Linked DNA regions of Homo sapiens: regions 1 and 2 are each linked to region 3. The links are contacts of gene promoters, found by promoter capture Hi-C in blood cells and fetal thymus (Javierre and others, 2016). All regions are on one chromosome and are shown on one strand. The core of a region is centred on a gene start or on the middle of the fragment in contact, and the rest is flanking DNA. Distances in the headings are between cores, read along the strand shown. Region 1 overlaps SLC9A4 (solute carrier family 9 member A4). Region 2 has its middle 19 kb from the start of SLC9A4. Region 3 holds the start of SLC9A2 (solute carrier family 9 member A2).

Region 1 (2,700 bases), core at 161-2,660, 130 kb after region 3:
CTCAGCTGCTTCAGCTCCAGCTGTGGCTAAAAGGGGCCAAAATACTGCTCAGGTCATTGCTTCAGAGGGTGTAAGCTCCAAGCTTTGGCAGCTTACACATGGTGTTGGGCCTGTGGGTGCACAGAAGTCAAGAATTGAGGTTTGGGAACCTCTGCCTAGATTTCATAGAATGTATGGTAATGCCTGGATGTCCAGGCTGAAGTTTTCTGCAGGGGCAGGGCCCTTATGGAGAACTTCAGCTAGGACAGTGCAGAAGGAAAATGTGGAGTTGGAGCCCCCACACAGACTCCCCATTTGGGTGCTGCCTAGTGGGGCTGTGAGAAGAAGGCCACAGGCCTCCAGACCCCAGAATGGCAGATCCACTGACAGCTTGTACCTTGAAAAGCCACAGACCCTCAACACCAGCCCATGAAAGCAGCTGGGGTGGTGGGGGAGGTGGGGGCTGTACCCTGCAAAGCCACAGGGGCAGAGCTGCCCAAGACCATGGGAACCTACTTGCATTAGCATGACCTGGATGTGAGACATGGAATCAAAGGAGATCATTTTGGAGCTTTAAGATTTGACTGCCCTTCTGGATTTTGGACTTGCATGGGGCCTGTAGCCCCTTCATTTTGGTCAATTTCTCCCATTTGGAAGAGGTGTATTTACCCAGTGCCTTTACCCCCACTGTATCTAGGAAGGAACTAACTTGCTTTTGATTTTACAGGGTCATAGGTGGGAGGGACTTGCCTTGTCTGAGATGAGACTTTGGACTGTGGACTTCTGAGTTAATGCTGAAATGAGTTAAGACTTTGGGGAACTATTGGGAAGGCATGATTGGTTTTGAAATGTGAGGACATGAGATTTGGGAGGGGACAGCGGTAAAACAATATGATTTGGCTGTGTTCCCACCCAAATCTCATCTTGAATTGTAGCTCGCATAATCCCTACTTGTCATGGGAGGGACCCAGTGGGAGGTAATTGAATCATAGGGTGGGTTTTTCTCATGCTGTTCTCGTGATAATGAATAAGTCTCATGAGATCTGGTGGTTTTATAAATGGCAGTTCCCCTGTACATGCTCTCTTGCCTGCTACCATGTAAAACGTGGCTTTGCTCCTCCTTCGCCTTCCACCATGATTGTGAAGCCTCCCCAACTATGTGGTGCTTGAGTCCATGAAACCTCTTTTTCTTTATAAATTACCCAGTCTCGGGTATTTCTTCATTAACAGTAAAAAAAAAAAAAAAAAAAAAAAAAAAAAAAAAAAGCATTAGTACAAATGGGAAGAGAAATAAAAAAATTCAGTTGAAAAAGCAGCAGAGTGTGAGCAAGCGACCAAATGCATCCCTGATGAGGCTCCGAAATGACAATGTAATAGCTATTAGTACTGCTTATCCAATATTTCTTTCCCTTCTAGGAATCTTGTAGGATTGCACTTCTAGTCTCTTTGAGGTTGGTTGTCACCATGTGATTATGCCTGGCCAACTTTTGAGTTTGAGAGTTTTTGTTTGTTTTTTTCTCAAGAAAGAATTACAAGAGAGAGTTTCAAATAGAAGAGATATATGTCATTTCCAGAATGGGGCATTTGCTTGCTGAGGTGAGACCCTCCAGAAATCTCTCTTTCCTCCAGCACAGTGACCAGCAATGTTCAATATGGTAACTGCTCTATAAGCTAAAGACCTTGAGTAAACATTATGAAGGGAGAGACCTGTTGGCTAGCAAAAGGCAAGTAGTACAAGTAAGAAATAAACCTTTGTTGTTTTTGGCTATTTAGGTTTGGAGAGATGCTTATTACACAGCATAATCAAGTTCATCCTGATGGTAAAAGATCTATGAACTTTTGCTTCTGAAATTCCTAAAAGCAGCTTGGTTCTAGATGAACCTTTGTGACACCTCATCATAAAGCACTTATTATTCCTGGGTTCCTGAGGGGTCAGCTACGGGTTGAATCATGCCCCCCTCTCCAAATTTATATGTTGGGGTTTAACTGCCAGTACCTGATAATGTGACTGCATATAGAGACAGCATCTTTCAAGAGGTCATTAAGTTAAAATGAGATCATAAGGGTGGGGCCTTAATCCAATATGATTGGTGTCCTTATAAGAAAATGAAGAGATACTAGGGAGGGTCACACAGAAGAAAGGCCACATAAGGACAAAGCAAGAAGGTAGCTGCCTGCAAGGCAAGGAATGAGGCCTCAACAGAAACCAACCCTGCCCACATCTTGTTCTTGGACTTCCAACCTCCATAATGTGAAAGAATAAAAGTCTTTCATATTTCAGAGATTGTTTCAGCCCCCCAATCTCTGCTATTTTATTACAACAGCCCTAGAGGGCTAATACAGAGGGCTATGTCTTCCTCATCGCCTTGCATATCTTTACAATTAATCTTCACTGCTTGAGCTTGCCATAACTCAGTTTCTTAAAACAAAAAGCCTAACTAATTACTGACCCTTTATTTGTTTTACTGTCAAGTTAAAAAAAAAAAACGTTGGAAGTTAAGAGTCACAACATAATACAATAAGAATGATCTTTCCTGCATGCCAAATAATGGAAAAATGCAAAGAATATCATAAAGACCTGTAGTAAACAACCTGACTCAAAAAATTAAATGATGAACCCAGTTCATTTTCTAGCTTGTATTAAGGAGCTCTGGCATAGTAAACTCTGTCATGGGCAGTTTATTGGCAACCACCTTCTCTGACTTTCCAACCACAAAAGGA
Region 2 (2,700 bases), core at 77-2,576, 170 kb after region 3:
TAGTGTGCCACTTCAAGTGGGAAATAGACACCTTACCGTCATCTGGGCCCCTTACCTGCCCTCCTTTATGTTGCATTACATCTACCTATATTGAAAATCCTACCAGAAAATGTCATAATTTTGCTTTTAACAAATTACAGCCTGGATGTTTTAAACATTATGTTATACGATTCTAGATCTTGTTGAAATCTTATGTATTATGTTATTTCTGCTTCAACAGGCAATTAGCCCAGTGGGATTAAGGCTCCAAACTAAGCCTGTGGTTTCAATTTCAGTTTTGTTTCACTGCCTTTCAGTTCTATTTGGACCTACTTCATATTTATACCTTTCAGCAGCCAGTCTGGAACTCAGAAAGTGATCTCTCCTATAGCTCAGTTCTGAAAGTTTATGGTATTCCCTTTAGGATCAGATTCATACATGCACAGCTTGGGAATGGGTCCAAAGGTTTATAAACAATTTTATGGATTCAGTTTCCTGAGCTCCTTTCTGCCTGTACTCTCCTCCTCTGTGCAGTTCTCTGGCCAAAGCATTGAGGCTTTATTTACTTCACTCTGCAGTGCACTTCCTACAACTGCTTACATCCACCTCACGAAAAGGTAAGAGGATAAAGAAAGAATAAAACATCAACAGAGGCTTGCCACACCCTACTGGGACTACAGGTCCTCATATCAAGGTGGACAATTCCCTTTCCTGGAGATTTAGGCTCTCGAGGGCCGCTAATACCACTGCTTTTGGTGGTGTCACTGGTGCTACCACAGGATTGCTTAGAGAGTGGGCAATGAAAGAAAATGAAAGGGAAAATATGGAAGGGCTAGGAAACTCTTTCTCAGTCTTCAAGCCAGAACTAGAGTGCTTCTTCTGAAGCTCTTTCTGTTATCACTGATGTCTACTTCTGGGTTTCAGACTGTACTGAGTCTAAGTCAGAAGAGACTGGAGACAAATTATGAGACTTTGAATTATTGTCTTCCCCAATCCGTCTGCTTCTATTTACTTTTCAGAATACTCAAATTGATTTTTGATGCATTTTTATCCAGACTTTATGGCTGCACTAGGAGGAAGAGACAGGATGGTGTTGTTCACTCCATCTTACCTAGAATTTTAACCTAGAAATGATATAGATGTTAAATGTAGGTATTAAAACCCGAAAAGGACCAGGAAAGCTATGAGAACTGCTCGGGCTATCATAGAAGGGTCAGTAAGGAGTTCTCTATGATGAGTGTTAGAGGTAGAGTGACCATCATCCAAGGTAGGACACTTTTTCAGAGTGAAAGAGAGTACTATAATAATTATACTTGGACAATAGGTGCAACCAGGAACTAGAACATATGGACACCTCAGAAGATGTGACAGGGAAATAATACTCTTTTCTAATTATATTCCACTGAGTCCAATTGTTCTATTGCAATCAGTCTCCTATACATAGAAAATTTGTTTTGGTTGTCTGCTTTGTTGTGGTTAATTGACATATAAGAAATATAAATAGCCCCCTGTCCCGAATGCTACCTTGTTATGTTCAGTGTACCTAGCAGCCTGGAAAGAGTGTATTCTGTAAATATTACAGCTGGCTATTTCTCCTTTTGTGTATGTGCTAACCTGAAGCTCTATTTGATTTTCCACGAAGCTAAGGTCAAAACGCTGGACATCTGAATAGCTTGGTTCTAGCATTATCTATCTTAGGATAAACTGAACAAAGTGGCCAAAAGAAGTCTGAGTCTTAAATCTCAGAGAGTGGCGGGCAGGAAGGCCAGGGATCCTGGCCATCACCAAAGCACAATGGCACAGTGACAATATGGGCTCCTCTTCACTGAGACCCTGCAATGATCCTTCCCACAAGAAACTTCCTCCAAGAATAATTTATACCCTTTAACTCATTGTTAACTTTATCACTGAAATTTCCAACAAGGATGTTGCTTGGTGCCAAAGCCACAGTGGTTTTTATGATGTGGGTGCCTCTGTGAATAAAGAGCAGAAGAGTGTTTCACGCAGGCCCCAAGACGACAATGACTTTTAGCCACTCTGAACTTGGATCACATCCAGACTGGTGGGTGTGACACACTGCATGTGAATGAGTCCAGACATTGCTTTTATTTATTGCTCAGATGATAAATCATTTTATTCCTTCAGAAAAGACAGAGTATAAGAGCTTGATGTTTATACGTGAGTGGAACACTATTTTAACTGCAGGTTAAACTCTGGTAAAGGAAACACACTTATGAGGAGGAAATTGGCCTCGTCTATCAGAAACAGTTTCATGGCCCTGCAGCCCATCACCTTATTACTTAGGAGAACTTAAAGGGAGACGCCCAGATCGGAAGCCCATAGGATCGCCAGCCTCAGCAGAAGGTTCAGGCTACAGCTCTGTTCACATTCCATTCTTGCTGCTGTTTAACCAGTGTATATCCTTATTCCCCAGACTCTTAGCTGCACTGCTGACTCTGGCCAGTGTCTCTCTGCTTTGTATGTCACTGCAAGTGCATTCCTTGTCTCTTCATTGGCCTGATCATTTTGGTCCAGTTGGTCTGTACTTCCAGGGGCCCAGGGTAAGGATTTACACTTTTATACCTAACACAAAGATCTCTGGCCGACATCACAAGGAGGAGCTGAAATTAACTCTACTCTTCTTTCCAAGCCCATATCCTGGCACAGACTGCATCTCCCCCCGCCCCCAAAAAAAGGGATTCTTCTTCTAGTTCATCCACC
Region 3 (2,700 bases), core at 84-2,583:
TTTTTATTTTTGTACTGTTTGGTCTTGCTATGTTGCCCATGATGATCTTGAACTCCTGGCCTCAAGGGATCCTCACGTCTGGGCCTCCCAGTGTGCTGGGATTACAGGCTGGGCCATTGTCCTGGGCCCAGAGTTAATTATTTTTAAATATGCATCTCACCTCACTGGCCTCAGCCACCCCGAAGCAAAAGCTTCCTGGAGAGTGACAGCCTCAACCCAATAGAGGGAGGAGAAAGGGCGTTCCTATTGCAGCTGCAAGCACTCAGGTGTCCCTGGTCCCCTTCCATGCACCTCATTAGTCAGGCGCACAGCAGGGTCTGTGTCACTGCCAAGGCGCCTCTCTCCTGTAGCATCCAGGGTTTTAACCACATTATGCATAGCTCCGGGGTTCGTCGGCACCTCTCTCCCTGCAGGTGAGACTGGTACACTTCAATAAACAGATCTCACTCAACTTAAGCAGAGAGCTGACAAACTTGGCGTTCCGTGCGGCAGAAGTAAGCAGCAATCGCTGAGTTTGTAGAACTTACACTTGGGGCCATTTCAAGGCCAATGTTCCCTTAAGAACCAAAACGCGAAACTGCTCTTCCAAGGGTCCTTTTCAACCAGAAGAAGCTGCTCCATCTGTCGTCCCTGCCCTGATTCAAGATGAGGCGGTCACTATCTAGAGGTCAGCTGGCTGACCCGGTCACCCTCCAGGTGTCCCCCCGAGATCGCCCCCTCCCATTCCCCACAAGTCCAGTTCGCTCACCAATCTTGGCCAGGGAGGCCAGCAGGATCCAAAGGGTGATCTCGAAGGGGATCTGCACGTGGGGGTAATCCAGCGTAAACACAGGCAGCCGGCTCTCCTCGAACAGCGTCGTTCCGGGAGCCACCACGCTCGCAGGGCTAGGCGGGCTGGAACTGGTGCCCATGGCCCTCGGCGCGTTCAGCAAGGTCTCCGCCAGGGCGCCCACGGGCCCCGCCACCTGCAGGAGCAGCAGCAACAGCATCGGAGGCAGTGGCGCCCGCAGGCTCCTCCAGTTGCCCAGTGGTTCCATGGGTGCCGCCGGTTGCCGCCAAGGGGACCGGCGGTTGGCCCTCCGAGCGCTCAACGCATCGCGCCCGGGCTGCTCAGCCCGCTCCGCCCTGCCCCGTGCAGGGCAGGGCAGCGACAGCCACCCGCCGCTGCTGCGGCACCGGGTCTCTGCAACCAGAGGGCTAGGTCCTCGCTGCGAGCAGGCGCACTGCCTGGCGAGGCACGTGCAGGGCGACGAGAGGCCGCTGCGCGTACCCTCAGCAGCCCTCAGCCGCCCTCCGCCGCCGGCCGCCTGCCCATGCCGGTGCGCTGCTCTCCAGCCGCAGCGGCAGGCCCTGCCCAGGGCGGCCCGCGGGCGGGGGCGGGGCGGGCGCGGCGCCCAAGCCGCAGGGCAGGAGGACAAGGGGACCTGGCCGGCACACCGCGCACCTGCCCGAGCCCGCGGGGAACGCGGGGCCCCAGTGACCGCGGGGGCGATGGCTGCCCTCCCTTCGCGCAGGCACCGCGCGCCAAGACCCGCCACCCCCAGAGCCAGCGAACTGTGGGTGGAATCGCCGCAACGGGCGCATGGTGGCCGGAGCTGTCTCCGCCCCGGAGGCAGCGTCGGACGTCCATCCAGTGAAGGAACCAGCGCGACCCACGAGTCGCGCCCTTCCCTCCTCCCCCGCCCCCGCAGGCTCCTCCAAGGGGACACCCCGGTGCGCTGGGCGCGCGGGGAGGCGCCACAGGCTCGCGGTCCGGAGGAGAAGCCCGGGCCGGTGGAGGAGGAGTGCTGTCACCCCAGCCTGGCGCTGCGGAGGCCAAGACAAGGCATGGGATTCTCTGGACGTACAGAAAGTTTAGGAAAGCCAAATTTTGTTTCCTTTCCGAGAGTTATCAACTCGCGCACAAGGTGCTCTGAACAGGGAAACTCCCTGCGCGGAACTCAGTGTTCCCACGCCCCCACGGAATCGGAATCCTGTTCTCTCCTCTTGCCACATTGTGCTGCTTTCACCCATTTGCTACACTGTCGCTGCCACTTTTCTTCTCCCTCCCCCAGCTCACGTAAAAAAAACCAAAACATCTTTCTCCGCTTTTAGGCTTAGAGGTGTACATGTCCAAGAGCATAAGAAATATAATTATTTCATGGAAAACCAGTGATTTGCCTCGCTCAGATTGACTTGCTCCGCTAATTACAGGACAGGCTGTGGTCAGGAAAAGAAAGGAAGCGTGATTCTTCTTCTGGATCTAAAAGGGCTTTCTCATGCAGAGCCAACCTTTCCTGTCCTTCAGAGCGCCTCCTTCACTGGTTGCGATCTCACTGTTTGAGCATCTTTATCGCCAGAAACCGAAATGAGCACAAAGGGGACTAGTTGCCATTCAATTAACTGAAAGTTTTCCCTTTGATATTTATGAAATAAAATCCTTCTCTTTTCTTAATCTTTGATGTGTCAAAACACGTGGCTTCTACTATTAAACAAACACCAGGCAGTTCGACCTTCAAAGCCGTTTTTTTTTTTTTTTTCTTTCAAAGTTCTAACATAGAAAATCAGTGAGATGTCAGCAGAGGGTACAAGAAAAAAAAATCCTCCACCTGCATAGAAGAAAATAAGGAACAGTCCTCTTTGGGTCTTCAAAGTAATGGAGGGACAAGTCCAGGCTAAAAAGAGAGAAGAATTCTGGGAGATGTTACAGAGCACTACTTC

What was found. The method cuts DNA at HindIII sites, captures the fragments that hold promoters and counts their contacts. A CHiCAGO score of 5 or more calls a contact.
Region 1: a fragment that was not itself captured here is called in contact with the fragment with the promoter of SLC9A2 in region 3 in 2 of 17 cell types (M2 macrophages and endothelial precursors); the score reaches 5.7 in M2 macrophages.
Region 2: a fragment that was not itself captured here is called in contact with the fragment with the promoter of SLC9A2 in region 3 in 3 of 17 cell types (endothelial precursors, M1 macrophages and M2 macrophages); the score reaches 8.2 in endothelial precursors.

What each region holds. Positions count from the first base shown.
Region 1 is chr2:102,489,863-102,492,562 of GRCh38, reverse strand. All of the region lies in intron 2 of SLC9A4 (solute carrier family 9 member A4), which reads right to left. Among named protein-coding and RNA genes, the nearest start is that of SLC9A4, 18 kb to the right of the region's middle. The HindIII fragment of the contact is 2,652 bases long and covers 85-2,700 here.
Region 2 is chr2:102,453,055-102,455,754 of GRCh38, reverse strand. No RefSeq gene overlaps it. Among named protein-coding and RNA genes, the nearest start is that of SLC9A4, 19 kb to the left of the region's middle. The HindIII fragment of the contact is 4,240 bases long and covers 1-2,700 here.
Region 3 is chr2:102,618,186-102,620,885 of GRCh38, reverse strand. SLC9A2 (solute carrier family 9 member A2) reads right to left here and starts at 1,333. Exons shown (of 12, transcript NM_003048.6): 1 at 749-1,333. The coding sequence starts at 1,037. RefSeq lists a silencer at 1,616-1,725. The HindIII fragment of the contact is 5,203 bases long and covers 194-2,700 here.